Regions from separate parts of the Homo sapiens genome. Here all the other regions are linked to region 3. Evidence: promoter capture Hi-C in 16 types of primary human blood cells and fetal thymus (Javierre and others, 2016). All regions are on one chromosome and are shown on one strand. Each heading gives the region's core, a stretch centred on a gene start or on the middle of the fragment in contact. The rest is flanking DNA. Distances are from core to core; before and after follow the strand shown.

Evidence for each region. Contacts are between HindIII fragments. The CHiCAGO score rates a contact against its expected background, and 5 or more counts as called.
Region 1: the fragment with the promoter of RFK here is called in contact with the fragment with the promoter of HNRNPK in region 3 in 1 of 17 cell types (non-activated CD4 T cells); the score reaches 8.2 in non-activated CD4 T cells.
Region 2: a contact is called between a fragment that was not itself captured here and the fragment with the promoter of HNRNPK in region 3, in 2 of 17 cell types (activated CD4 T cells and naive CD4 T cells). The highest score is 9.2, in activated CD4 T cells.
Region 4: a contact is called between a fragment that was not itself captured here and the fragment with the promoter of HNRNPK in region 3, in 3 of 17 cell types (activated CD4 T cells, naive CD8 T cells and total CD4 T cells). The highest score is 8.6, in activated CD4 T cells.
Region 5: a contact is called between the fragment with the promoter of GNAQ here and the fragment with the promoter of HNRNPK in region 3, in 1 of 17 cell types (fetal thymus). The highest score is 8.0, in fetal thymus.
Region 6: a contact is called between a fragment that was not itself captured here and the fragment with the promoter of HNRNPK in region 3, in 1 of 17 cell types (total CD4 T cells). The highest score is 5.7, in total CD4 T cells.

The regions. Positions count from the first base shown.
Region 1 is chr9:76,392,934-76,397,630 of GRCh38, reverse strand. It overlaps RFK (riboflavin kinase), which reads left to right and starts at 3,205. Exons shown (of 4, transcript NM_018339.6): 1 at 3,205-3,541. The coding sequence starts at 3,460. It also overlaps a transcript of GCNT1 not described here. RefSeq lists enhancers at 2,547-2,786, 2,964-3,258, 3,121-3,934 and silencers at 3,067-3,126, 3,147-3,226, 3,267-3,756. The HindIII fragment of the contact is 5,359 bases long and covers 1-4,122 here.
Region 2 is chr9:75,023,269-75,027,640 of GRCh38, reverse strand. The region is part of intron 1 of CARNMT1 (carnosine N-methyltransferase 1); the gene reads left to right. Among named protein-coding and RNA genes, the nearest start is that of CARNMT1, 2.8 kb to the left of the region's middle. RefSeq lists enhancers at 467-516, 3,510-3,559. The HindIII fragment of the contact is 836 bases long and covers 895-1,730 here.
Region 3 is chr9:83,978,413-83,983,103 of GRCh38, reverse strand. It overlaps HNRNPK (heterogeneous nuclear ribonucleoprotein K), which reads left to right and starts at 2,889. Exons shown (of 17, transcript NM_031263.4): 1 at 2,889-2,951; 2 at 4,652-4,691. It overlaps RMI1 (RecQ mediated genome instability 1), which reads right to left and starts at 2,299. Exons shown (of 3, transcript NM_001358291.2): 1 at 2,213-2,299. RefSeq lists silencers at 1,886-1,965, 2,776-2,915 and enhancers at 1,610-2,118, 2,176-2,265, 2,286-2,355, 2,486-2,545, 2,119-2,626 and 2 more. The HindIII fragment of the contact is 2,357 bases long and covers 1,586-3,942 here.
Region 4 is chr9:78,290,105-78,294,745 of GRCh38, reverse strand. No RefSeq gene overlaps it. Among named protein-coding and RNA genes, the nearest start is that of PSAT1, 4.7 kb to the left of the region's middle. The HindIII fragment of the contact is 3,581 bases long and covers 856-4,436 here.
Region 5 is chr9:78,030,352-78,034,974 of GRCh38, reverse strand. It overlaps GNAQ (G protein subunit alpha q), which reads left to right and starts at 3,164. Exons shown (of 7, transcript NM_002072.5): 1 at 3,164-3,875. The coding sequence starts at 3,740. RefSeq lists an enhancer at 3,081-3,975. The HindIII fragment of the contact is 11,535 bases long and covers 1,218-4,623 here.
Region 6 is chr9:89,322,504-89,327,288 of GRCh38, reverse strand. It overlaps SECISBP2 (SECIS binding protein 2), which reads right to left. Exons shown (of 17, transcript NM_024077.5): 3 at 1,613-1,862; 4 at 1,251-1,392. Among named protein-coding and RNA genes, the nearest start is that of SECISBP2, 6.4 kb to the right of the region's middle. The HindIII fragment of the contact is 1,161 bases long and covers 1,918-3,078 here.

The DNA.
Region 1 (4,697 bases), core at 1,956-4,455, 7.6 Mb after region 3:
CTCTATTAAAAATGCAAAAATTAGCCGGGCGTGGTGGCATAAACCTGTAGTCCCAGCTACTCGGGAGGCTGAGGCAGGAGAATCACTTGAGCCCGGGAGGTGGAGGTTGCAGTGAGCCGAGATTGCGCCACTGCACTCCAACCTGAGTGACAGAGTGAGACTCTGGTTCAAAAAAAAAAAAAAAAATTCTTTCTTCTATATCCTATGCTGATAACACAGTAATTACCCATATGACTTGACATGTAAATGGTAGTTTTAAAGATTGGAGCCTGACTGCTCCATCTTAAACATTCTACAAGACTCTCCTTTTTTTTTTTAAATCTATCTATTTATTTATGTATTATTTATTGAGAAGGAATCTTGCTCTGTCACTCAGGCTGGAGTACAATGGAGCAATCTCGGCTCATAGCAACCTCCGCCTCCTGGGTTCAAGCGATTCTTCCGCCCCAGTCTCCCGAGTAGCTGGGATTACTGGCATTCACTGCCATGCCTGGCTAATTTTTGTATTTTTAGTAGAGACCGAGTTTTGCCATGTTGTCCAGGCTGGTATTGAACTCCTGGCCTCAGGTGATCCACCTGCCTCGGTCTCCCAAAGTGCTGGGATTACAGGCAAGAGCCACTGCGCCCGGCCTATTTATTTTTTTAGTGACCGTGTCTTGCTTTGTCATTAGGCTGGAGTGCAGTGGTTCAATCACAGCTCACTGCTGCCTCAAATTCTGGGGCTCAGGCGATCCTCACTCCTCAGTTTCCCAAGTAGCTGGGGCTATAGGCACGAGCCACCACCACCTGGCTGAGACAGAGTCTCGCTCTGTTGCCCCATATGGAGTGCAGTGGCGTGATCTCCAGCTCACTGCAACTGCCGCCAGGTTCGAGCGACTCTTGTGCCTCGGCCTCCAGGGTATCTAGGACCACAGGTGAGCGCCACCACTCCCGGCTAATTTTTGTATTTTTTGTAGAGACGGGGTTTCACCATGTTGCCCAGGCTGGTCTCCAACTCCTGAGCTCAAGTGATCCACCGGCCTCAGCCTCCCAAAGTGCTGGGATTACAGGCATGAGCCACTGTGCCAGGCCCTGGCTGATTTTTAAAATTTTCTTTCTTATTTTCTCCTCTTCTTTTCTTTCCCCTTTCTTCTTTTTTTTCTTGTTTCTTTTCTTTTCTTTCTTTTTTCTCTCTTTCTTACTTATTTTTATTTTAAAATTTTTGGATAGACGGAAGTCTCCCTATTTTGCCCAGGCTGGTCTTGAACTCCTCAGCTCAAGAGATCCGCTCACCTCGGTCTCCCAGAGTGCTGGGATTACAGGCGTAAGCCACCATGCCCCGCCCATTTTTATACGTTTAGGTTAATGCTTTCCAACAAAGCTGATGAGAGGATTACATGAGACAGTGTGAAAAATACTTAGCATTTTCTCTATTCTTAAAACCACCCCTCCTCATTTACCTCCTATGATTCATTTAATTATTTTATCTCATTTAATTCTCATACCTTCTTGCAACCTAGGGCTTAGTGGCGTAAGACCCAGGGATGATTTATCAAGTTCTCACCTCCAGGCTTTTCTTATTAGGTGTATCACTGCTGATGAAGTTAAAAATATACCATTCTTGCATATTGACTATTTTGAATTAAAAGCACTTGAAAAACAATAGATACAAAAAAATCATTCTGACCTCTTTTCTGTTTCTTAGAAGCAGATGAAATTACCATATGAGAGACATCCTCCCTATATTAGAAGGAATGCAGCACTCTTATTAAGGACGGGAGTCAAGAGTGAGAGAATCCTGTACACACCTTGCTAAAATAACTCTTAAGCCTCTCCAGATAACTTAATTGCTTTTCACAACTTGCTATTACTACTCTTACTACCGGTATTACTATTATCGTTATTCTCATTATTCTTTGTTTAATTCCGTATAGATAAGTAACTGACCATAATTGCTTCTTTGGGTCCTTCTCTCCCTTCCCTTCCCTTTTCTTCCCTTTCACTTTCCCTTCCCCTTTCCTTTCCCTTCCCTCCCTTCCTTCTTCTTCTCTAGTTCTTTTAAGGGGTGAGGGTGTCTCACTGTGTCGCCCAGTCTGGAGTGCAGTGGCGTTATCATAGCTCAGTGCAGCCTCGACCTCCTGGGCTCAATCAATCCTCCCGCGTCGGCCTCTCAAACTACTGGGAATACAGGCGTGAGCCACCAAGCCTGGCCTAGAACATAAATTTAATATCAGGTAAATCTTATCAGAGATGCATACATGTAAGGTAGAAAGAGACTACACGGTCTGCACAGAATTTTATACAAATGTATAGAGCAAAAAAGAAAAAAATTAAACTTCTCTGGATTCCATTGATTAAAAATTTAAAAAAATAAATAAAAAACTTCTTTGTCTTCGAGACGTTAAGAGGATGCACCTTCTTATAACCTTGCACCCTGCATATCCTGTGAGTGAGCCCAGAGCTACTTCCCTAGGAGCGTGCGTATTTACAGTTCCGAGGGTACGAAGGCCTCTATCTGCATTGCAGTAGAGGGACGGCCTGTTATCGGGCTTGTGAAATTGTCAAGAAGACAGCCTGGAGGGGACAGTCACCGCCCATGTCGGTAACCTTCCACTAGTCTCTGGGGTTAACAGCGTCACAGACAGGGACTTCTCCCTTGGAGCTTACATTCGAATATATTAATAACTCCAGAACGTGGTCAGTGGTCCTGGAGGACGACCGCTTCTGGTAGGGCGGCCAGGAAAAGCCTCTGTGAAGAGGCGATCTTTGAGCTGAATTTTGGAGCTTTAATAAATACTTAAAGAGCGAACGGAACGAGCGATGCCTGACGTTCAACCCAGCGGTTGCCAAGGAGCTAAAGAGCGTCTCACTTTGGCTTCCGGATTGTTATGAACAGGAGGAAGGAGAAAAAAAAACCAGAATTGTTCGAGAATTGTGCTTTCGCGGCTCTCAGGCTGAAAACGGGGTTTCCACATTAGTTCCCATCGCCAGGGGCTGAAACGAAGCCCGGGATCCAGACATTAGGCGCCTGGGGCGGGAGCCTGCAGCGGGAGCTTGCGGCGGGAGCCGGGCGAGGCAGCGGCGGGGCGGGGCCATGATGGGGCGGGGCTACGGAAGCCGAGCGGGCTCGAGGCGTTCGGCTGAGGAAGGGAGCGCACGCCGGCGGCGCGGAGGCCGGCTCTGCGCTTCGGGCCGCCCCCTCCCCCCACCCCGCTCACACCCGGCACTTACTTCGGCTGTCTCCGCTGCCCTCCAGCGGAGACGCAGCTCCTCAGGCGCCCGGCGGTATTTGTTGGGTCGGCGGCGTCAGGGATTCGCAGTGGCCTGTGGTCGGCGTCGTCCGGCCACTGGTGCGCCCCCGCGGCAGGCAGAGCTCACGCTCCTGTCCCCCGGCTGGTCCGGGGTCTGGGCGCCGCGTCGACGGCGGCTCCGCAGGACGCGCAGACCGGGCCGCAGCCCATTCCCCGAGCGGACTGCATTATGAGGCACCTGCCTTACTTCTGCCGGGGTCAAGTGGTGCGGGGCTTCGGCCGCGGCTCCAAGCAGCTGGGCATCCCCACAGGTGAGAGCAGGGCGGCCAGAGTCCCCCGGGCCGGGTCACGTGGGGAGCGGGGAGAGACGGCAGCCGGGGACTTGGGACCGGGGCGTGGGGCCTCCGGACCGCGGGCAGAGAGCACACCCTTCCTCCTCCCGCATCCCCTTGTCTGTGGCGGAGGACCGTTGGCTCGGTTGAGGGAGCTTGTCCCTGCTTCTGGCTCCGAGCTCCGCGGGGACGGGGTTGAGGGGTGGTGAGGGCCGGAAGCCCGAGATGAATCGCAGGATTCCCCGTTCACGCCTCCTTGGCCAGCCAAGGTACAGTTGGTCAAGCATTGCGCTTGTCTTGCCCATTAGAGACGTAACGTGGGCCAGAACGGCTGAACTCGCAAGCCGGGTCTAAGGTGGTTTTGTTTTTAATTTGTAATTATGTAATGTCCAAATGATAACATAGGTAGTTGAATGAGAGTCAGCTAACCTTCTTGGTCTGTCTACATTAATTTCAATAATCGAGACCTGACTGTAATTCATCCTTAGAAATACATGCCAGAGCTGCGTCTTGACTTGTTAAGTCAGCCTTGAGCTTGTGTATTTGAAAAATAAGAAGCTTTGGCCGGGCGTGGTGGCTCACGCCTGTAATCCCAGCACTTTGGGAGGCCGAGGCGGGCGGATCATCTGAGCTCAGGAGTTCGAGATCAGCCTGGCCAACATGGTAAAACCCCGTCTCTGCTAAAAATACAAAAATTAGCTGGGCATGGTGGCGCGTGCCTGTCATCCCAGCTACTCGGGAACCTGAGGCAGGAGAATCGCTTGAACCCAGGAGACGGAGGCTGCAGTGAGGCGAGATCGTGCCACTGCCCTCCAGCCTGGGCGACAGAGTGAGACACCGTCTCAAAAAAAAAAAAAAAAGAAAGAAACTTTTCAGGTGATTCAGTACCTGGTTAGGAAAGAACAGATCTGAAAAAATCCATCTACTCTGGTACTTGTTTTTTGCATCCTACTCAAAGAGTATGGATTTTTTTGGAGAGCTTTATATACTTACCTGGTACTTTATTCATAACCTATTCACATGAATAGGAGAGGGAAATCTGAGCCGGAAAATGGAAGGATGGGATTGATACTTACAGGCAAAGTTGTAGGAGTCTTGTGAATGTAATGATTTACATTAGCCTTGCATGTGATTT
Region 2 (4,372 bases), core at 63-2,562, 9.0 Mb after region 3:
GGTGTGTGTGGTCGATGTCCTCCAAACTGAACACACGGAGAGCCCAAGTTCACCTACGCGTGGGATGCTGTAGGACGTATTTTCCCAAACTGTTACCAGTGCTTGTAAGAGCAGTTTAAGATTTCCACCCACCCCTCTTTGGCGCTGTGAACGCACTTGCACTTTTGTGTGAGCGATTGAATGATGCTGCTCAGTGTCTTTAACTGGTGGGTGATTAAGGGCGGAAGTGGTCCGGATATTCTAAAATTTGCTAATTATTAGGAGAGATGAGAGAAGTCACAATAAGAGCTGCCTTTACGTTCTTTTTTTCTGCAAATCTGTATCTAATTCTCCCTGGTGTGCTAGGCACTGTGGTAGGACCTTTATGCTCCTCATTCATAAAAACAGCTCCCTAACTTCCACGTTTCTTCTAGATAGATGTTAAAGTAGCTTAATCACAAAATTATAATTCCAAGAGCTGAAAGGGACTTAAATCAACTGGATTTTCAGGTGAAGATAACACTTTTATTCACGTAAGAGATATGAGTCCACCGGTGACTATGTTCTGAGGCTGCAGTTGGAATCAGACAGACATGACCTCCTACGCAGGTAAACCTGTTCCCATAGGTGGGTTCCTGCTGTGCTTTATGCAAAGTTTTTTTATATTGTTCATCTTATGTATTATAGTTGTTTTTATAAATCTCTTGCTTTGCTGTGACCTCCTCAAGGGCAGGGGCTGAGTCTTTTTTATTTTTATGTCACTAGTGCTTGGCATATGTTGTTTAAGCTCTATTTTTAACAAAACAAATAGTAGCAAAGAAATACATTTCTCATTCCCAAATAGTCTGTCAAGTTTTTGACTGATAGTTAAATTAGTTTACTAGTCTGAATTTAGAAGCTTGCTTAGTGAAAGCTTAAAGTTATTTGGAATCTGATTGTATATGTGATAGGAACTTTTGAACTTCGAAGATCTTGATGAAATAATTTACTGATTAAACCCAGAAATAGGGACCAGGGACAGCATTACTTTACGGAGCCCAAAAGAGAAGTTTGGATATTTTATTTCTCCAGGTTTAGTAGTAACAGAGGGAGCAAGGCGTCAGACCATCAGAGAATTGAATTTGATGCAGGAATTGTGACGGAAAGAACCATAAAGTTAGGAAAGGCAGCTAACATCAGATAGCTAAGAGTGGGAGATACAGAAAAGTCTGGTACATTTTGCTCTTGAAAAATCTAGAAAGAATATTGGGAAATGTCTTGGGAATATGGTGGACCCATTTAGTTAAGTGCGTAGTTGTACTTACTTTTAATATATTAGGACCAATTTAAAATTGATATTTATGGGTAAGTATGGGATGGGACTTTGTTGGGGTAGGGGTTGATCAGGAACTGAAGTGTGGCAATATAGAGAAGAGATCTTGTGTGAATATTCTAGTGGTTGTGATACTATTTCCTATACTCTCTTCTTTACCAGCGTAATGTTGGATTCAGGACATTTCATTTTTTAAAAAAAACAGTTTTTATTTGTATATACTCTCTTGAAACACTTCAAATACTTGGGCTGAAAATAGTATAACATCAAAAATATGCTTTTTAAAATGTCACTTAAAGCCTAGGGGTACAGAAAGTTTATGTAGCAGAGAACAGTGGATTGTTACATTCTAATATTTTGTGATCTTCTAGACTTAAACTGTAGCCACTAATCATATCTGGATAAATTTAAGCTAAAATTAATTAGTATTTAATAAGCTTTAAAATTTAGTTGCTCAGTTTCACTACCCATATTTCAGGTGCTCAATAGCTACATGTGGCTAGAGTCTGCTGTACTGGACAGTGCAAATAAAAGCTTTTCCATTATCGAAGTAGGTTGTGATGGACAATCCGGTTCTACACATTTAGCAAGTACAGTTGACCCTTAAACAATATGGATCTGAACTGCACGGGTCCACTTATACACAAATTTTTTGAAATAAACATATTGGAAAATTGTTTTGACATTTGCAACAATTTGAAAAACTTAGCAAACTTGCATAGCCTAGAAATAGTGAAAAAATTAAGAAAAAATTATGCCATGAATGCATATGTGTAGATACTAGTTTATCATTTACTACCATAAAATATACACAAATCTATTATAAAAAGTTAAAATTTATCAAAACTTACACAAACACAGATCTTACATGGAGCTATTTGCAATTGAGATAAATGTAAACAAGCAAAGATGTAGCATTAAATCTTAGTTGCATAAAATTATCTGTAGTAGATACTGTACTACTGTAATAATTTTGTAGCCACTTCCTGTTGCTTTTGCAGTAAGCTCAGATGTTACCAGTATCTTCTTAAAATAATCACTCTGCTTTTGTCTGTCAAGTAAATTGCATATAGCAGTAAACAGATTTCATCAAATTTAATGCAATACCATAAACCTTAAATAACACCATGGGTCCCATATGACGTGCCACTGGTGATGCTGCAGGTGCTCCCAAGAAGCAGAGAAAAAAGACATTACAAGAAAAAGTTGATTTGTTTGATATGTACTGTAGATAGAGGTCTGCAGTTGGAGGTTGCCCCCCAACCCCATTTCAGACAGAGGATTCATCTTGTAATCAAATTATGTAAACTTATAGTATTGATAAATGCAGTGCAGTAGTGTAAATGTATTTTCCCTTTCCTACGACTTTCTTAATATTTTCTTAGCTTTATTGTAAGAATATAGTACGTAATATATTAACATACAACATATCTGTCAGTTGTTTATGTTATTGGTACGGCTTTCGGTCAGTAGTAGGCTATTAGTAGTTAAGTTTTTGGTGAATCAAAGTTAGGTGTGGGTTTTCGACTGCACAGGGGGTTGGTGCCCCAACCCAAGTATTGTTCAAGGGTCAGCTGTACGTCCAGATTTTGCAGGGTTCAATTTTACTGCAAAATGTCTTTTAGTTAATACGTAGGAGATTTAGATAAAAGGTCATAAAGCAAGGAATGTCTTTTGATTAATATTTTCTCTTTCTAATGGGTTTCAATTTTGTGATTCCCACAGATTTTGCTTAGATGACATTCTCATTAAGGTAAAAATGGATATAGCTCATTTGTATTGAATAGCAAAAATGTTAGTTTTATAACCCAGTCTTGTTACGAATGAAGCACCTCAGCACATAGAAAACACTAGAGTTGAAAAGCTGAAAGTCTTTTCAGAAACTTCTTACTTTTAGAAATAACGGGGTGAGATTTTTTAATATTGAGATTTAGAACTGATTTTTACAGGTGAGGATGTGGATAGACACAAAGCGGTAAGCAACTTGCTCAGGGTTACACAATCCAGTTGTGGTAGAATCTGACCTAAAATCCAAAATCGTTACCTAAAATTTTACTGTGCATTAATGAGGAGTTATACTAGTAACACAAATTTAATGTTAGGTATTTAATAAAGATTTAAAATGAATCAAGACAGGCCAGGCTTTGTTTCTGACAAGTTATGTTTTTTCTATTTGGATTTCCTAGAGTAGTTCAACTAGGTGCAGAGGAATGGGCCTGTGACCATGGCCTTTAGATCAGACCTGGTGTGGGCTCACCCTGATGACAGGTGACTAAATCAGAGTTGAGGTCACTGCTGACACCAGGTTTCTAGAGAGAGTTAGAGGTAGAGATACCACCATTGGGGAAAAATGGCTACTAAGTTTACTTTCTCCTCTTATCAGCAAGAGGATGTCACCTCCTGATGCTGACTTAGTTCAGAACCAAGGAGAGTCTGATTTTTGTAAAATACTCCTTCAAAGCAGGTTTGGCAGAGTTTCTTAAAAGGGCCAGGCAGTAAATATTTTAAGCTCTGAAGGCCAAGTGGTCTCTTGTTACAACTCATCAACTCTGCCCTTGAATGGAAGGAGCCTTAGGCTTTGTGTAATCAAATAGTGTGGCTTTGTACCAATAAGACTGTACAAAAACCAGGTAGCCAATGGGCCCCTGCCTTAAAGCAATTCTGATAGCGTAAGCATGTGCAGGATAGTGAAGTTAGCCCCAGTTATAAGGGTATAATAAGGATTGGACTATATTCTCAACTTTAGTAAGATCCCACCTATTTTAAGAGTCACTGGTGGATGTATGTTATGGCAGCTTTGCACACCATTAAGTAACCAGGGGTTTAAGGATCTCATCCTGCTCTGTGTAGTTACTTCTGTATCAAAAATTGACAGCTCTTGTAACCAATCTATAACTTATCTCAACTCACCCTTGCAACCTTGATATTACTTGGTGATAAGTAGTCTCCATGGAAAACCAAAAGTGGCACCCGTGGGAATATAACTGAACATTTATTGCTTTTTACATATGCTGAAATACGGAGATATTGAATAATGACCAAGATGACACTTGTGTTTTAGAATAATTCTTCTGATTAGAG
Region 3 (4,691 bases), core at 1,640-4,139:
TAATGCAGCTGGATAGTGTACATTCTCAATTATATTAGCCCATCTAAAGTAAATCCCCCATCTAAGTAATATTGGGTCTAAATTCACTGAGTCCAAAGTGATCACTACACCATTACACCATTGTACCAATTACACAAGACTGGAGTCAATGAATGTATTGTTAAGTTCTTGAATGAACACAGGTATAAAATTATTGGGTTGAAAAGTCTTAATTTCAAACAGAGAATAAAAGGATGGAGAAAAAAGACTTTCCTGTTATTTAAAGAGCAAACCTAAAAATTAAAAAGACGTAAAGAAGAAATCAAATGGGGGGAAAAATAGCAACCATCCCACAATGGCATCTAGAGGGGATGAATAATTTACACCAGTCGGGGTCCAGTCTGGACAATGAAACTGGGAGGAAGAGGTTTTTTTTTTTGTTTTTGTTTTTGTTTTTGAGACAGGGTCTCGCTCTGTCGCCCAGGCTGGAGTGCAGTGGCGCGATCTCGGCTCACTGCAAGATCAGCCTTCCGGGTTCACGCCATTCTCCTGCCTCGGCCTCCTGAGTAGCTGGGACTACAGGCTCCTGCAACCACACCCGGCTAATTTTTTTTTTTGTCTTTTTAGTAGAGACGGGGTTTCACAATGTTAGCCAGGATGGTCTCGATCTCCTGACCTTGTGGTCCGCCCGCCTCGGCCTCCCAAAGTGCTGGGATTACAGGCGTGAGCCACCGTGCCCGGCCGGAAGAGGTTCTTATATAGGGCTGCTTACTTGTGATTCCCACTCATCATTCCTTATCAAGAAAATGATGACTGCAACATAAATCCTAATTTGAAAGAAAGCACAGCATCATCATTACCGTACCGCTATTTGTGCATATTAGTGTCAGTGACATGTCTCAGGTTTTAAATGACAAACTCAATTAAATGTTGCAAATACTAACTGGCGGATTAAATCTCTATAATCCAAGTATCCTAAGCCCCTACATAAACTCATCAGTTTTGAATATTTAATAAAATTCTGAACTTTGTGTTTTAGAACTGAAATGCGAGTTAAGTTTTACCTACCCAACAAGACTATACACTCTTCATGGTGGGGACCATTTAAAAAATTATATTATCACTTAAAGAGAACTTTTATAAATTCCACAATCCCGGACATTATGTTCTAACAGCATGTGTTAACGTATCCTCCCAGAATGTAAATACTGGTGTTTGTCATGAAATCCTCAGTGCGCCCTAACAAGAGTTTTCCTCTAATCAGTCAAGTAAAAGATGCTGGGTGGATGCAATCATGGCCATTTAAAAGAATGCTGGTATATATGTTTTGCAAATTACCCAAGAAGGAAACATTATAACAGGAATGAATCAGCACAAATTCATCAACACTAAAATATATGCATGTATTCGGCCAATGGTGGATTTCGCTTTATGTGCAGATTATGACACCTTTATGCTTCAAAATGAGTTTGGGATTGTGGGCGGAGGCTGGAAGGTTGACGAGTAAGGATGTGGAAAGCGGGTACTACCAGGGCTGGAGATTTCCCAGGGCTGTCACCGATTGAAAGTGACCTTATGTGCCTTAACAAAGGAAGTCATGAAAGCTTGGCACAGGAGCCTTAAAAGTAAGGAACCGAATACAATGCAAGTGTGCGCTGAACCCGCTAGAACAGGAGCACGTTTGAGGGCAAGGGTTTTTGTCTGTTTTCATCACTGCCACAAGGCAGGCGCTTTGAATGGAACGTGGAGGTCTGCAACGTATTCAGCGATACGCATTCATTTTAGGAGACAAGGGCAATACATATTGCCTAAAAATTTTATCGGAATAAACTACAGCGACGACACTACAAAATACTTCCATCTCAGGTCCCATTACCCAAGAGGAAAGTCTCAGAACCGAGAGCCCTGTGAAACCGCCTGTGCCCTCTCGGCGAGAAGTTCTCCAGTACTCCCAGGCTCGCCCCGCGTTTCCCCGGCTCCCGCCCCGGCGCAAGGCAGGCCGAGAACCGCCAGCTGCGCCCCCGGGCCCGGCCTTGACTGACGGGCGCCCCGGACCATTACAAACAACGGGTTTCCGAAGCGTGGGCCCGGCCCAGCGGACGCAGACGGCCCGCACTTACCGCGCCGCAGCTCGTCCCACAGCCCACAGACCACAGCCCGGGGCGGGGTAAGGGGCTTCGGGCACGAGTGTGGGCTGTGAAAACACGGGCATAAGTCTGGGCCGAGCACCGACCTGGGCGTCCCGCATTTTCCTCGCGCAACATCGGTCCCTGGGCAGCGCAACTGTAAGGACAGGAACCGCCGCGGCGCGCTCCCAGTTCCTTTTTTACCTCTTCCCGCCCGATTTGCCGCGCGCTCGCGCCCCTCCTCCAACCCCAAAGGACTCCTTCGGGGCTGGAAAACGCCCCTTCCCCGCCCCCTCCCTGTGCGCGTGAACTAGGCAGTTGTTAGATCTCGCGAGAGGTTCGCCCCCTAGCCGCCCCTCCCCCCAGCTAGTGAGTGCGCGAACGAGAAAGGAGGAGGGCGCTCCAGGCGACAGCACTGCAGACGCCATTATCCTCTGTTTCTCTGCTGCACCGACCTCGACGTCTTGCCTGTGTCCCACTTGTTCGCGGCCTATAGGTAATTGGAGTTATTGGAGCTTGGGTATTGCTGATTCGGGTAAGGGTTGGGGCTCCCTGAAAGGCTGCGTTTACTTTTCCCAAGCCCGGGTTTTCTCGAGCCCTTAGTGGCCTCCCAGCCCGAAGGGAGGCGCTGGCGGGAGGCGGGGTTGTCGCCTCCTCCGTCGCCTTGATTGACGTGGCCTCGGGCCAATCGCTTCGCCCTCGCACCATCGCTGAAGCCCTGGCAGCCAATAGGGCGCGACGGCGGGGAGGACGCGAGAAGGCGGGGGAGGGGAGCCTGCGCTCGTTTTCTGTCTAGCTCCGACCGGCTGAGGCGGCGCGGCAGCGGAGGGACGGCAGTCTCGCGCGGTGAGGAGCCGGGTTGGGGGAGCGGCTCGTGGAGGTGAGGGTCGGAGCCCAGTTTTTCCGCTTGAGGGAGGCGTCCTGGGAGCCGCTTTGGTGTTTGGCCGCTTCTCCGAGTGGGAACGTTGCCCGGTGTCCCCTCCCCCACCTCCGCCATTTCCCTGAGCGTGTATCCGCAGTCCGCGTTGTGGTCCTAGAGACTTGGGGATTCGTGAGGCATGTGCCTCTAGGATGAGCTGGAGCTATGTGGCACTGGGAACTAGGGACCTCGTGGAGGAAAGGAGGCCGGTGCGGGGAGAAGGTCGCGCCGCCGCTCTCTTTGTGTGAGCCCCGCCTCACCTTGGGTCTCCCGGCCCGGGGTCGGAGCTGGAGCGGCGGGGATGGAACGGTCAGGGCTGCCTCGATGGCTTTGTCTCGGGCAGTGGGGGGAGGATGCGGGGGATGAGACCTCGGGACCGCGTGGTGGGTGGGGGAGGGGGTCGGCGCTCGGCTCCGCCTAGTAGCACGTAGTCGCCATTACGCGGGCCGCCATTTCCTGTCGGATCCGGGTGAGGAGAGGTGCGGTGCTTCTGCTGTCGACTTTCGCTTTTTCCCGTCCTGTTACCCGGCTGTTTTTGATCTCGGTGCCGGGAGGCGGGGAGGGGAGGGCGCGTTGGCGCTCGGCCAGTGGAGCACATACTTAGCGGATTTTTGAGGCCTGGGGACTAGTGACTGCAGGACCCGAAGGGTGAACGGCAAGCGGCAACGTTATTCTTACAGATAAGCCCTGCTGTTTTTGCTTAAACTTTCTTATCCAACTCTTCTCCCACCACACCTCAGAAATTGCGTGCTGGGCCGGAAGGATGTCGTTTCAGTTGTCGTTAGGAGAGCAATAAGTCGACCAACGGTATGGGAGAATGGGAGGCATAAATGTGCCTCGCTTGTTGGCTCTTTGCTGTCTAGCCAACCTTCTAGTAGAGGCCGCTTGTCAACTCCTAGTCCCGACAAGAGGGAAGCTTAAAAAGGCTGTTTGTAGTCCTATCGACCGTTTTGGCACGTAGACACTTTAGTTTTCGTGTTACAGGCATGATTGTTGTGTTGTACTCCCTTAAGCCTAATTTAAAATAATCCGCTAGTGACTGTTAGTTTTCAAGGGCTCCATTTGTTTCGCTGATTAATAATAGACTGGTATTGTGGTAGTTTGGGTCTGGTCCTATATTAGATTTTTGGATTTATCCCTCCGGTAGATTGTTCTGGTTGTTGGATGTGTTCGCAATTGCCGTTGTATTTGTAAACTTTAGAGATGTCACATAAGATCGCTTCAAGCATGAGTCGAAAGAAATAGGAAAGCAATTGGAAGTTTTAATATAAAATTAGTTTTCCCAGTGAATAAGATGCATTGTAACTTTTCATAAATGTATGCTTTGTGGATGACATTTATCTTTTCAGGGTTTTGGGAATGTGCCGTATAAAACAATTCATTGCTGTGGTGGGACTTAATCCAGTGGCTAAAAGTTATTGTTCTAACTTAGCAAAAAATGAAACCAGGCTCCCTTGAATTTTGTATTTTTTAGGCAGTCATTTGAATTGTGAAACCCTAAAATGAAGAATCAAGTTTTAGAAACAGCTGGTTTTTTGGGTTCAAATCAGTATTCACTGTGATCGGAAACAAATATTCAGTAATAAGAATAAACAAAAGCAAAACTGATTTGTGTTGGTTCTTATAGGCTACTGCAGCACTGGGGTGTCAGTTGTTGGTCCGACCCA
Region 4 (4,641 bases), core at 1,397-3,896, 5.7 Mb after region 3:
GTGCTATGTCACTGAAATATGAGAGGCGATTTGTTACAGCAGCTCACATTATCCTGATTATTATGCCATCCTAAATGCAACAGCTGAAGTTCAGATCCAGCTGGTTGTTGCCAAGCAGGCAAATGAAGTTGCTTGAGCTGTCTTCACGTTTTGAAAGAAAACCCAGGAACCCAGATTTTTATGTGACATCTCATTTTTAAACATCTACAAATGTAAATTTCAGCAAAACACTGTACAGATCAATATTTTGAGGGGCAAACTCCAGCTTATCTGAGGCCTTATTGAGCCTACAGGTAACAAGCTCTCTGAAGGACTGTTTATAGTGTTCTGCCCCCAAATTTCCTCCAGTTCAACAAGGAACACCCTCAGCTAAGTGCTTGAATAAAGCAGCAGCAAAGGAGGAAACATAATTTAATCTCAAAATATTATTTTGTCCTTCTTGCCTATTTTGCACTGATCTATAAAGACAGTCCAGGCCGGGCACGGTGGCTCACGCCTGTAATCCTAGCACTTTGGGAGGCGGAAGCAGGCAGATCATGAGGTCAGGAGATCGAGACCATCCTGGCTAACACGGTGAAACCCTGTCTCTACTAAAAATACAAAAAATTAGCTGGGCATGGTGGCGGGCGCCTGTAGTCCCAGCTACTTGGGAGGCTGAGGCAGGAGAATGGCATGAACCCGGGAGGCGGAGCTTGCAGTGAGCCAAGATCGCGCCACTGCACTCTAGCCTGGGAGACAGAGTGAGACTCCATCTCAAAAAAAAAAAAAAAAAAAAAGACAGTCCAGAGGAACCCCTGCATGTGGGAGGGATCCTTCCCTCTTAGTAGATTCTCATTTAGCAAGTACAAAGAAGCTTCTTTATGAAATACATATTTCGTAAAAAGGCAGAAATTCAATTTTCACAAGTATTATTCATTGAGTACTTCTATATGTGAAAGATGCTGGGCTCTGCTGCGATTGCCAATCAGACCCAGCCATCCTGTTTAGAGAGCAGTGAGAAGAGAAGTAGGCAACATGAGCAGGGGAGAAAATCTATTTGGAATGAGACAAGATTATTTCTGCTGCCCTTTTTGTAGTTGGAGCTAAAGATCCTTTTCCCTTATCATTATTCCCAGAGAACGTGAGGAAGGGAAGCTGGGCCCAGTGGCTGACGCCTATAATCCCAGCACTTTGGGAAGCCTAGGCAGGCGGATCACTTGAGGTCCGAAGTTTGAGACCAGTCTGGCCAACATGGTGAAACCCCGTCTCTACTAAAAAAAAAAAAAAAAAAAATTAAAAATTAGCCTTGCATGGTGTCCCGCACCCGTAGTCCCAGCTACTCAGGAGGCTGAGGGAGGAGAATTGCTGCCCCCAGCTCCAGCAACCACCATTCTACTTCCTGTCTCTATGAATCCGACCACTCTAAGTACCTCTTGTATGCGGAGTCATACAGAATGATTGATCCCGGGAGGCGGAGGTTGCAATAAGCCAAGATTGCGCCACTGGACTCCAGCCTGGGTGACAGAGTGAGACCCTGTCTCAAAAACAAACAACAATTTTAAAAAGTGGGAGAGAGGCAGTAATCATAGTTTATGTAGCAAAAAGAAACCAAAAGTCAAAGTCCTATTACTTTCTTTATTCTGACCCCAACAGATAGGAAAAGATATCCATCCTACTCTCTTTACCTCAGTTTATTTCCTTGCCTACTTTGCTTCATTTTTTTATTGACAAAATATGCATAACATAAAATTTACCATTTTCAAGTGTACAGTTAAGTGGCAGTAAGTACAGTCATATTTTTGTGCAATCGTCACCACCATCCACCACCAGAACCTTTTCATCTTCCCACACTGAAACTCTGTACACATTGAACTATAACTCCCGCCACTCCCCAGCTCCAGCAACTACCCTTCTACTTCCTGTCTGTATGAATTTGACCACTCTAAGTACCACCTGTAAGTGGAATCATAAGAATTTGCCCTTTTGTGTGACTGGTTTATTTCACTTAGCATAATGTCTTCAAGGTATACCCATTGTGCTTCATTTTTTTTTTGTAGAGATAGGGGTCTCGCTATGTTGCCCAGGATGGTCTCGAATTCCTGCCCTCAAGTGATCCTCCCACCTTGGTCCAACAAAGTCCTGGGATTACAGGCATGAGCCATTGCACCTGGCCTCATTTTGCTTTATTTTTAAAGATTAGTATAGATGTTTAAAAGATCTTTAAGCTCCGCACAAGTGAAATCCCTAAAGAGGTTATTTAAGAGGCACGCTCTCTGTGGACTAGTGGGCAGAATTACACAGGGGATGCACACTGCTTCTACCTCTTACATCCTTAAAAGATTTCAAAGTGGAAAAAGCATCAGAATTTATTTAACTTTTTTTTTTTTTTTTTTTTAGAGAAAGGGGCACAACTCCTGGCACCATCTCTAACGTGTTTACACACTGGTATTTTCCACTCCCAGCCCCGCTGGCTCTGCTCATACGCGTGTGCATTTTTGGGATCAGCACTCTTCATGAGGGCTGCCTCACAGAAGGGTTCCACATGGAAGCCTGAAAACTAGCCACAGACCACTCGTTTCACCACCTGTGCAAAGTCAACACATGCCTATTTCAGACAACCATCCAGGCTGTTTGAGAACGACTTTTGTAGAGTTAATAATCTGTGGGTTGTTTTGTTCTTTCCTTTTCTTTATGAGGCCAGAGGAAATACTAAGGCAAAGCACAGAGAGAGAAAATTCAGGGATGACGGGAGCAGAAGCCAGTTCAGGATGTGAAAAGTCTTGCTTTTTCCTCTTCTTTTTCTCATGCTTCAAACTGAGTGCCAGCTCCAAAGAACCACGCACACTGCCTCAGAGATAAGCAGGGACTGTCATTTAATTGTATTGTTTGGCTTATGTCTTGTATAGAAAGGCAGCAAAGATTAATTAAAAATAACAAGAATTCAAAGCTGCTGGGGGTGAGAGGCATTTCTGTAACCATCAAAACGAACTGGGCAGGGGCAAGGGGAGCAGCTGGCTTGAGGGGAGGGAGCTGGAGGGGAGGGAAGACTGGCTCAGCATGTTGTGGTGTGTGCATCTGAGGCATATCCAAGCAGGGTGTGTGTGAAGACTTTTTAATGACGTAAGAATACGCCTCATATGAAATATCAAAATGAAAGAAAAAGCTGCTTCTCATCAGCACAACAATTAACTATCTCCAAAAACAATTTTTTTAAGCCCACCTCCTTGGAGTCACAAATTCTACTCAAACTTAGACAACAAATTATAGTCCCAAACCAGAACATCAACAGATGTGTTCAGATTCATTCATTCAACAAGTACCGTCACGCATCGCTTAACAACAGGGATATGTTTTGAGAAATGCATCCTTGGGCGATTTCATCGTTGTGTGAACATCATAGAGTGTGCTTACACAAACCTAGATGGCACAGCCTGCACACACCTAGGCTATATGATACAGCCTAAGCCTATACAGCATGTTACTGTACTGAATACAGTGAAGATTTGTTGAATGAAAGAATGAGGTTACATATACTATACCTATTGTGATAATTCTGCTAAAACAAGGAGAGGTCTGTTCCAAAGTTGATGTCTTCACCCCTAGAGACAGAAAACTGCTTATTATTATTAATTATCCTGCACCCCTTTCAGCAGAGTTTCAAAGGAGGTTTCATCTTTCCTCATTCTCAAATTCAATCTGTTCTGCTTCACAATTTTTCTGTGCTCTATCGACTTCTATCTCCATGCTGCCTGCCTCGTCCAAGCTCCCATGATCTCTTCTAGACTCCTGGGCCTGGACTCCTTGCATTGACATCACTGACTTAGAATCCAATCTCCAAACTGCAACCACAGTGAACTTTTGAAAACATACGTAAGGTAGATCATGTAGCTCCTCTGCTCAAAGTCCTCTAACAGCTTCCCGTTACATTTAGAACAACAATCAGACTCCTAATGGGCCCACAAGACCATACTTAGCCTGGTTCTTGGTCATCTCTTGGCTCAGCCCTTGCTTGTTTCTCTGGAAACTCACCAGCCTCTGCAATAGTACTTGTTTGTTGTCCATTTCCACACTAGACCATAACTTCCCAGAGAAGCTGAGACTGCACCTGCCTTTTTCACTGCTGTATCCCCAGCATCAAGCATATTAGGTGCTTGATAAATATTTCTTGAGTGAATGTACAGGGCAGGAAGAAGGAAATTAATGAAAATGCTAACAGTCTGTTGCTGGGTTGATAATTCTAAAAGAGTGAGGTGAGGATAGGCATAAGACCACCAAAAACCCCTGAAGATCCTAGGACGCCACTCTGCACCCTTTGAGAGCCTGTGGTTCTTCAGGCCCATCCTCCCACAAGTCATTTCTGCCAAGGCTGAAGGCCTCATCGAGTCCTAACATGTCGCCATGCAATTAGGATTCTAGCTCAGTTTCTTCAATGCTGAGTGAAGCTGCATGTGGAAGCTTACCAAATGATATGGTTTGGCTCTATGTCCCCACTTAAATCTCATGCTGATTTGTAATTCCCAATATTGGGCGAGGGGCCTGGTGGGAGGTGATTGGATCATGGGGGCAGATTTCCCCCATGCTGTTCTCGTGCTAGTGAGTAAGTTCTCATGAGATCTGATGGTTTAAAAGTGTACAGCACTTCCCCCTACCACCCACCACCAC
Region 5 (4,623 bases), core at 1,915-4,414, 5.9 Mb after region 3:
ACTGGGAATAAGAGAGGTACTGTATATTGCCTGTGTCTGATGACCTCTATGGGCCTTTCCTTCCCCAGGAGATCCTTTTAGAAGAGCATGGCCTTTTCATTCTTTGACTGCAGAACCACTCCTTAAGACTAAACTATGCCTTTTACTGTTTTTCTTTGCCAGTCCCCAAAGGACAGGGTGATATGATTGTGGGGTTGGAGATCCATCTCAGGATACCATAGAAAAGGTGACAGTCTTCCTATTTTTCTCTGAAGTTCAATTTTCCTTGGGTATTGCAATTTGCTTTTCAGCTCATTAGTAATTGTCCTTGAATTCTCAAAATGGTTTATCATCTTACTCTCTGTGTGGGGTGACTTGGAATTGCTCATTTACTTTGAGGTGATGTAGGTACCTATTTATTGAAAACCTTTTCATTCTTTAACATGCATGTCAATGCCCCTTTTCCTGCCGTATCTTTTCCAGTTCTCCCCTTCCTTTTTATACCTTTATGTTGTTACTTCCACCCCAAATTTTATACAAATTGATTTTAGTCTTGTATTATAGCTGCTTAGAGCCTCATTATAAGACTATAAGCCTATGGAGGGTAAGGACTGTATTTTATTCATTTTAGTATCTCTCTTATCCTGTACCTTCACCTGTTATTTACACATAGTAGGCAATGAATAAATGCTTGTTGACTGAATGAACTGGGATTTTGTAACATAATCCCTGTTTAGTTGCATGTTTTAGAGTATGTGCTTGTAGAACATGGTCAACTATCAGTTGTTTCTGCATGGGTTCTATTTGTTTGACTTAGTCTCTAGGAATATTTGCTTGGCAAACGCTCTCCAGATAATATGAAAAGGTTTTTGGATAGATCTGGGCTCAGACTTGGAATTTCTTTTCCTGTTTCCTTCTTGACACCCATATATGGCTTTATCACTGTAGAGTGTTGGTTTTTCTTACTTCCTGGTTTCTCCCCAATACTTGAAACATTCTCCTATTGATTCATTGCATCCATTTAAGTATCTAAGTTGCCAGGGAGTGTTCATGATGTTGGGGGGATACAGGGGGGACAAAACAGACTCTGACTCTATAGCCCGCTGAAACAGATGAATTCATCAAATAATAGGACAATTCAGTCAAAACATATTACCTGATAGCCTGATGGCTCATTTTAAAAGACATTTTTAAAAGTCTCAGAGGATCCCTGGGTAGGTAACCAGAGACTTCAAGCTTTCTGTCATTTGGTTTTCCAGTGTTCTGTGTCTCTCCAAAGCTCATATACATACATATATTCGGAGGATGCAAACTTAAAATTTTTTCTTCTGAAGCCACTTTCTATTTTTGCATACTGAATTTCAATCTTTAATTTCTTTAGTCACTTGATTTTAAATTTTAATTTCATAGCAAGTCTAGCTGTTCTCTGTAGGCATTCACATAAAAGGGTTGAGGTTTGCCCTCTCTGCTCTCCAGGGCAAGGTGAAATTTAATTATTTTCTAGGTTTTAAACAGAGAACCTAAAATATATATTTTATATCTTGACTTGCTTGATTTAAATCGTGGTTTAGAGTGTGTGTATGTGTGTGAAACGGTGGAGTAATGGCAAATGAAAGAAAGAAGGAAGTTACACACCTGTTGTCTAAGAACCCTATATGAGTTCTTGATCTGTAGCAAAAGCAGAGTCATGACCGTACCTTACACTCTGGATCAGCAGGTTGCACCAGGGACACTTCAGAGAACACATGAAACGTGAAAAAGCGGTTCTCTTCATAAAAGACAATTTTCTTTGAAGACCTCAGGTTCCTTTAAGGCAGGAAGCAATATGAGTTTCATCTCCTGGGCCTGATTAAACAAGATTATTTTCGTGTGCTATTTATCAGTAGACGATCACAATGAAATGTGCATACGACAGTTTACTGCCTCAATCACATATTGCAAATCAAAAAAACTAGAATGCCGTTTTGCTGGGGCCTCCTTAGTTTCTCTTCTATTTCATTCTTTCCTTTCCTTTTATTCCACATTATTTTACATTTTCCCATAAGTCATCCATAATTCAATCTCAGTCTAGAAGAGTAAATTCGATTACTCGGCGGCTAAACATCGTGTGCCTTCTCAGAAACAAGAGAACTTGTAAAACAAAAACAAAAACAACTTAAAAAAACAAAAACAACCAACAACCACCAAAAAAACAAAGGCATGAAAAGTTGGAACCTATCGGGAGGCTCTTGGAAACTTGGGCAGCTTCCTTTCTCTGTTCAGGATTTAGATTTCTATCTCACGTTACTTTGCGAACAGCTTCGCCTGTGAATCTCCCCCTACACCTCTGGGCACCGGTGCCAATTCCTTCCCTTCCCTTCCCCAGTAGCCCCACACAGTATAGAGGAGCTTATTTTCTAAGACTGCACCGGTGTCAGAGGTGACGTGAGAGTTTCTAACCGAATGGCGTTTTAGAAATAGGAACGGGAAACACAGAAACGGCTGAGGAGCGACCCCGTGGAGCAGACAGGCACAGCCCGGGAGCGGCGGACGCCAGCGCCGGCGCCGCAGGGAGCGCGTGCGGGGCTCCGCGGGGCCGCCTCCCGCGACTTCAGCAGGGGCCGCGGCCGCGCTCCCGGGCCGGTGGGCTGAGGCAGGCAGAGGCCGCCATATTCCTGTCTCACCACGCCCGGCCGGACGGCAGCCGCAGGTCGGCTGCGGCCCTGGCACGCAACGGCGGCCGCCGGCTCGGGCTGCGCGTCGGCGGCCGGGTCTGGCCCCGACTTCGGCCGGGGGCGGCCGTGACTGCTGCGCCCGCGGACTCTGCCGAGGGTGCGGGAGCAGTAGGCGTCCGCAGAGCCCGCGGGGGCCGGCCCAGCCCGGGAGCCGCGCGGGCGAGGCGAGAGCCGCACTGGGAGGCGCGCCGCGGCGGCCGCGAGCCCAGGAAAGCCTTCCAGGAGGGGCCGGGCGGCACCGCCTCCCGGCTCCCTCCTCCCGCGCCCATCCCCTCCGCCTCTTCCTCCTCCTCCTTTCGCCGCCGCCTCCTCCCTCCCGGATCTGTGCTCCAGTTCAGAGAAAGAAGAAAATGTGTGTGTGTGGCGAGGGGGAGGGCTCGCACTGAGCAGCCGCTCCGCGCCTGGCAATCGGGGCAGGGGGTGGGCGTCTGGCGGGGGCGGGGGCGGAGGCGGAGGCGGAGGAGCGCGCGGTTGCCGGGCGGGACGGGAACCGGGTCTGCGCGCGAGCCGGGCGGTGGGCGCGGACAGGGCCGAGGGCGCCCGGGAGCCGTGTCAGGCGGCGGCGAGGAGCGGGCGCGCCGGGCGCGGGGAGCCGTCGGCGGCCGCTCGCTGCGGGGACACCCCGGTGAATGAGCTCTCGCCGCCAGGCGCACGGCGTAGGGGAGCCTCGCAGGCGGCGGCGGCGGCGGCGGCTCGGGGGGCGAGGCGGGCCGCCTGTTCCCGGGGAAGGAGGCGCGGGCGTCTGAGCGAGGCCGGGCGCGGCGGCCTTCTCTCACGCGCCCCCCGAGCCAGCGCCCGCCTCCCGCGCCCGCCTCTCTTCTCCCGTCGGCCCAGACTATCCGCTCCCACCGCGCCCCCGGCCCACCTGGTGGCCCCGGCCCTGGCCGCCGCCCCCGCGGCGGTTCCCGGAGCTCGTCCCGGACGCGCGCCCGGGCGGCGGGGGCTCGGCGGCCACCGCTGCCTCGGGGGAGCGAGGGCGGGAGGGTGTGTGTGCGCGCTGTGAGCAGGGGGTGCCGGCGGGGCTGCAGCGGAGGCACTTTGGAAGAATGACTCTGGAGTCCATCATGGCGTGCTGCCTGAGCGAGGAGGCCAAGGAAGCCCGGCGGATCAACGACGAGATCGAGCGGCAGCTCCGCAGGGACAAGCGGGACGCCCGCCGGGAGCTCAAGCTGCTGCTGCTCGGTGAGTACCGTCCGGGGCCCCGCCGGGCCTCTGCGCCCCCAGCCCACCATCCTTGGCCCTGCGGGGCAGCTGCCTTCGGCGCCCCCGCCCCCCGGCGCCCGCGGTTCGCCCCTACCCTCCCGGGCGCGCCCCCGGCCACTGCCTTCACCCGCGCGGGCGCGCGGGCGCGTTACACACAGACACACACACACACACACACACACACACACACAGCGACACACACACGCAGCACAGGGGTCGGGGCTGCCCTGCCCGGTGCCTTGGCTTGTTCCTTTTCGTGTCCCTGAGGGCTGTACCTTATCTGCTGTGCATCTGCTAAATGGCAGATCACTCCGACCAGAGGCGCGGGGGTGGAAAGGTGGGCAGAGGGGTTGAACTTCCAGTGTCGTGGCCGCGGCACCCCATGGGGTGGTGGCGTGGGGAGCCGTGTGTGTGGCCCAGCGGGTGGCGAGCGGAGCCGGGGCACGTTGGGGGATGGCCTGCGGTGGAGTGGCCGGTGTGCATCCATTATCAGTGCCCTATGGGGTCAGGAGGGAATGGGGGAACGGTGGGCAGACTCGCAGCTGGATTCCCGGAGCACTCATGGTGAGGAAGCCAAGTGGTTGGCCCTCCAAGGAAAGGGTCTGTGTACTGGGGGCGAGGCGGGAGGGCAAGCCCAAATGTGTCACACAAGTGCTGTTCTCTAGCCACCAGACCATCGAAAGGAGGGAGCCTAGAAGAGTTGGCCAGTGGATGGTGACAGGCGTTA
Region 6 (4,785 bases), core at 1,249-3,748, 5.3 Mb before region 3:
TAGGCCTTCACATTCACCCACCACTCAGTCATCGAATCACCCAGAGCAACTTCCAGTTCTGCCAGCTCCATTCATGGTAAGTGCCCTATACGGGTAAAACATTTTATATCTTTTTTTTTTTTTTGGAGACGGAGTCTCGCTCTGTCTCCCAGGCTGGAGTGCAGGGACGCTTGATCTCGGCTCACTGCAAGCTCCGCCTCCCGGGTTCATGCCATTCTCCTGCCTCAGCCTCCCGAGTAGCTGGAACTACAGGTGCCCGCCACCACGCCAGGCTAATATTTTGTATTTTCAGTTGAGACGGGGTTTCACCGTGTTAGCCAGGATGATCTTGATCTCCTGACCTCGTGATCCGCCCGTCTCGGACTCCCAAAGTGCTGGGATTACAGGCGTGAGCCACCGCTGTACCTTTTCTATATTTTGATACACAAATACTTACCACTATGTTACAACTGCCTACAATATTCAGTACAATAATATGGTCTAAAGGTTTATAACCTAGGAACAACAGGCTATATCATATAGCCTAGCTAGGTGGTTGGCTATACCATCTAGGTCTGTGTAAGTACACTCTAAATGTTCCCACAATGACGAAATCACCTAAGGGCACATTTCTCAGAATGTGTCCCCATCAGTAAGTGAGGCATGACTATAATTCTAAGGCTGATGAAATAGTTACCTTAACCTGATTGTGCAGCTGGGCATTTTAATTATTCTTTTTAGACATTTTATTGTATTGCAAATTTAAAGGGACTCTAATGAATTTTCTGTGCTAGTAAACTTTCCATCTTTCAGTTTGCTGGAATAAACTAGAGGGAAGCAGGTAGCATAAAACGCATAACCTCTTCCCCATCTTTCTCCTGAAATGCAATGGATAAGGTAGGCTGCAGCTACATGAAGCCACTCATTTAATTATAAGACCACAGTTACTACAGTTAATAAACGTCCCTTGTACCAGATGGTTTATGAGTGAAGTCAATGAAAAGAGAAAAATGTATATACCAAATAATACAAATTATAGGCACTTAAGATCCCACAATGCAACAGGTACCAAATAATAATCCCATCCCTGGGAAGAAATACCTCTAGAATTGCTCAGGAAGTCTGACGCCCTAAGCTGTGTCAGACCCAGGTCTCATTTCTTGGAGTAGTCACAATGAACAAGCCCATAGAAACAGCTGTATACATAGCAGGAATGTTTCTGGGGCACAAGGAGTAGGCTCGCATTATACTACATTGTTGGTTATTTTTACCTGATTTCAAACTATTCTCAGCGTAAATGGACAAATGATGTGAACCTCTAGCTGATTTTATCTCAGATGATATAGTTCCATCAGCCCTTTCACTGTCAAACTTTTGCTGATCATACGTTTTTTTCTCATCATAGGTTTTCTTCTGCAGGAAAGATTAAAAAGCAACATGAAATAAAACCACCACTATAAAAAAGGTTTAAAGCAGCAAAATATTAAGTATTCACAATTCAATCATTTTTTAAAAGGTTAAATACAAAAAAATACATGATACTTAAATATGATGTACAAATTTACCATTTCTTTACATTTTAAACATTAAAGCAACCAACTAAAGGACACAACAAAACAACATCACTACTCACCTTAAACAGAGCTTTCATTTCTTGTGGGAGAGGGCATGTGTTCTCATTTCGATGCTTCACTGTTTGAAAACCTCGGTAACAACTGGGTTGGTTATAAAGATACTGGGAGCCAGGCACTGAGTAAACATTCTGTGTGGAGTCAAGGGTATAAGGAGAATAGGCATATGGATGAAGAGTTATCTCAGAAGATAAATACTGAGGTGGAAAAGTTGAAGCTCCAAAGGCCATGTCTTCAGTATATATTTTCTGCCTAAGTAAAAAGTGTAAACTTTAGTTGCAGATTTCATACTGCAAACCAAGAAGCTTTTCTGTAATAAACTAATTCAAACTGAACATTTAATATTTCTGAGACCATTCACTCTAGCACTGGAATAATCCCTAATTAAAAGCCAAATAAAATCTCTGGGTGTTTCTTTCTCACCCTGCAAAGAAAGATGTTGACTCTATTTTTTCACTAATGAGCTGGAAGTCCGTAAGAAACATCAACAGAGCCAGAAGATGCTCCAGCAGCTTTTCACCCAATTGCTACCAAGTATTTGGGAAAGCCTCTCCCAGCAACCCTGGCCAAAATGCCCCTAAAGACCATTCTCTCTGCTGCGGGGAGACCCAACAGCCTGCAATGCCTCCACCAAGGCTCCTGCAAATGGTTTTCTCCAGCCCTTCCCTGCTCCAAGCCCACCATGACATCCTGCGCTTTGCTGACTAACAGGGTCAGAGCGCAAAGCAGACACCGCACGGCACCGTGGATGTTAACTACACACTTTACTAACAGATGGACACCAGCTTTGAAGGTTGCTATTGCCTCAATTTATCCCAAGCTGCTAGACTAAACCAAAATATAATTTAACACTAATTTTTCTTTTTTAGCCAATTTGATACAAGGCTACAGGTTTCAACCTTTTTCCCATGAAAGCTGATACAATGACAAAATGCTAAGCAACTGATTTAAAATACAAATAGTAACCTCCTCCTTCCAGCAAATGTTTCTGTTAATTTCCGGAGCTATTCCAAAATGTACTAGTACACTGAAAGGCAAAAAATCCAAACCTAGTCATGACACACCCTTTAAGACCTTCAAACTGCTACGCTGTCAGGAGATATGAGCATAAGCACCGCTTACTAGAAATCATATTTCTAATGCGCTGCAAGTAACAGACTACACTGAATAAGAAAGGGAGACTACAGGCTCTACCTATAATATAATAACGTTTACTGCTTTCACTTCTATCCAGTACTTAATCATATATTCTCTCATCTCACTGTTTACTATTTCATGATATGTTAACTTAGATTTTCTAAGATCTTTTACTTACAGGTAAGTAACTTTAACATGAAATATTCCTAATTAAAAATCAAATAAACCCCTTTTTACTGACCTTTGTCTGTCCAACAAAACAACTGGCCTAGCACTGCTCCAAACATACAGCACTGAGGACTAGCTCTTTGTAGAAAAGAGGCTCAAAGCTTCATCCCACTGCCTACATGTTCCTGTGAATTCTGTGCTGTATTTTGTTTGTAGTTGAGAAAAGCTAGTGGGGGGCAAGTGTCACTGAAGGTGGATAATCTGTTCTTCATAAAAGATGAGTTGACAGAAAAAAAAATGTGAAAAAGACTGTCCCAAGTCCAATAAATAGATAAATGAACAGACAAATGAAATGTAGCTAAAAAGGAAAGCAGGGACAGGTTCCATTGGTTTTGACGGCTGCTGTCATCCAGGAAATTTTCATCCAGGAGTCAGGAGACCTTGGTTGGGGTCCTAGCTCAATCACAATCCAGTTTTCTATTCTGGGTAAGTCATTTGGGTTTCTGTCCCCTCACTGGTCCTTCCTCCTCTGGAAAGTTGGTATTTTCCATTTCCATCCAGTGCAAACACAATTACATGCAGAAAACAACACAAAATACAAAACATCAAAGCAGTAACTCACAGCATCTGGCGTGGCTTCAAATGGCATGTCTGGGAAATTCCAGATGCCAGGAGTGGCCCAGATGACCCTAAACCCACAGTAACACACCTGTTTCTCATTCACTGTCCTAAGCTACCCCATCCATACTAAAATCAAACTGTCTGAGTAATTGTGCAATACCTGCTGGTCTCCTGGCTCCACTTCCCTTTGCCCCTTTCCCACCAACGGCTTCCAGGTCTCCCAGGACCTCCTTCTTGCCTCTCCCTCCAGGCACCCGTTGGGTCTGGCTTGACCATCACATGACTTGAAAAGCTCCCTGGCCTGGACTTTGCTCGCCTGGCTCTCACCTGCCCTCCAAGGCTCTATCTCTGTCTCTTTCCCTAGTGCAGTCTCCTCTACACCCTCCTTATCTCACCCATCTGACACATTCTGGGTCAGAACCTCTTATCTTTCTGCTTAGGACTTGACATAAATATAAACAATCCAGCACCTTCCCTAGTCCAGGCCTCCATCTCCAACTTTCAGGTCATTTCCACTTACTATTTCACTTTTTCCCAATTCAGCACGTATAAATCCCAAATTTAACATCCATTCCCCAAAACAGCCCCATTTACAACTTCTGTTCTCATGTATGATCCTACAATTATTTCCATGTATTCAACCGAATATTTTTGTAACATCTTTCCCACCAAAACCTGTACGGACAATCATGGGGCTCTTTTTTATTTCAACAGTTCTCTCATGTAGTTTCTTTACTATTTCCAGTGCCTAGAACCTGGTCAAAGCCTTCAAGACCCTCTTCTTTAAAAATCTTTCCAAAATTTAGGAGTGATTACAATGACCCCATTTAAGACACTACCAAAAGTTCCCTATTGCCTACCCAGCAAACCTAAAACTTTTCAGCTGTACTATGCAGGCTTCCAATCTACTGACAGCTTCCCCCCAAAATTATCACTTTATTCCTCTACTATCTCCCAAACATATCATGCACATGGTCCCTTCAGTCAGGCAACGACCCAAAGGGGATGCAGTTTCTCCTCCACCCACCGAGCCACGTGCTCAGCTGTACAATGTTGTATACCACTAGTTCTTCTCATAGCTGATCTGCTTTAACTCAAAAGCATCAATTGGTACTAAAATTTTCACAGTATATTGGCAGATGGTGAAAATGCTCAACTACCTCTTGTCAATAGCAGCAGCAATTTTGAAGAATAGCACGTTAATTCTGGTTCTGGTGCTACCTATTTGAATTAGCATGAACAAACATTC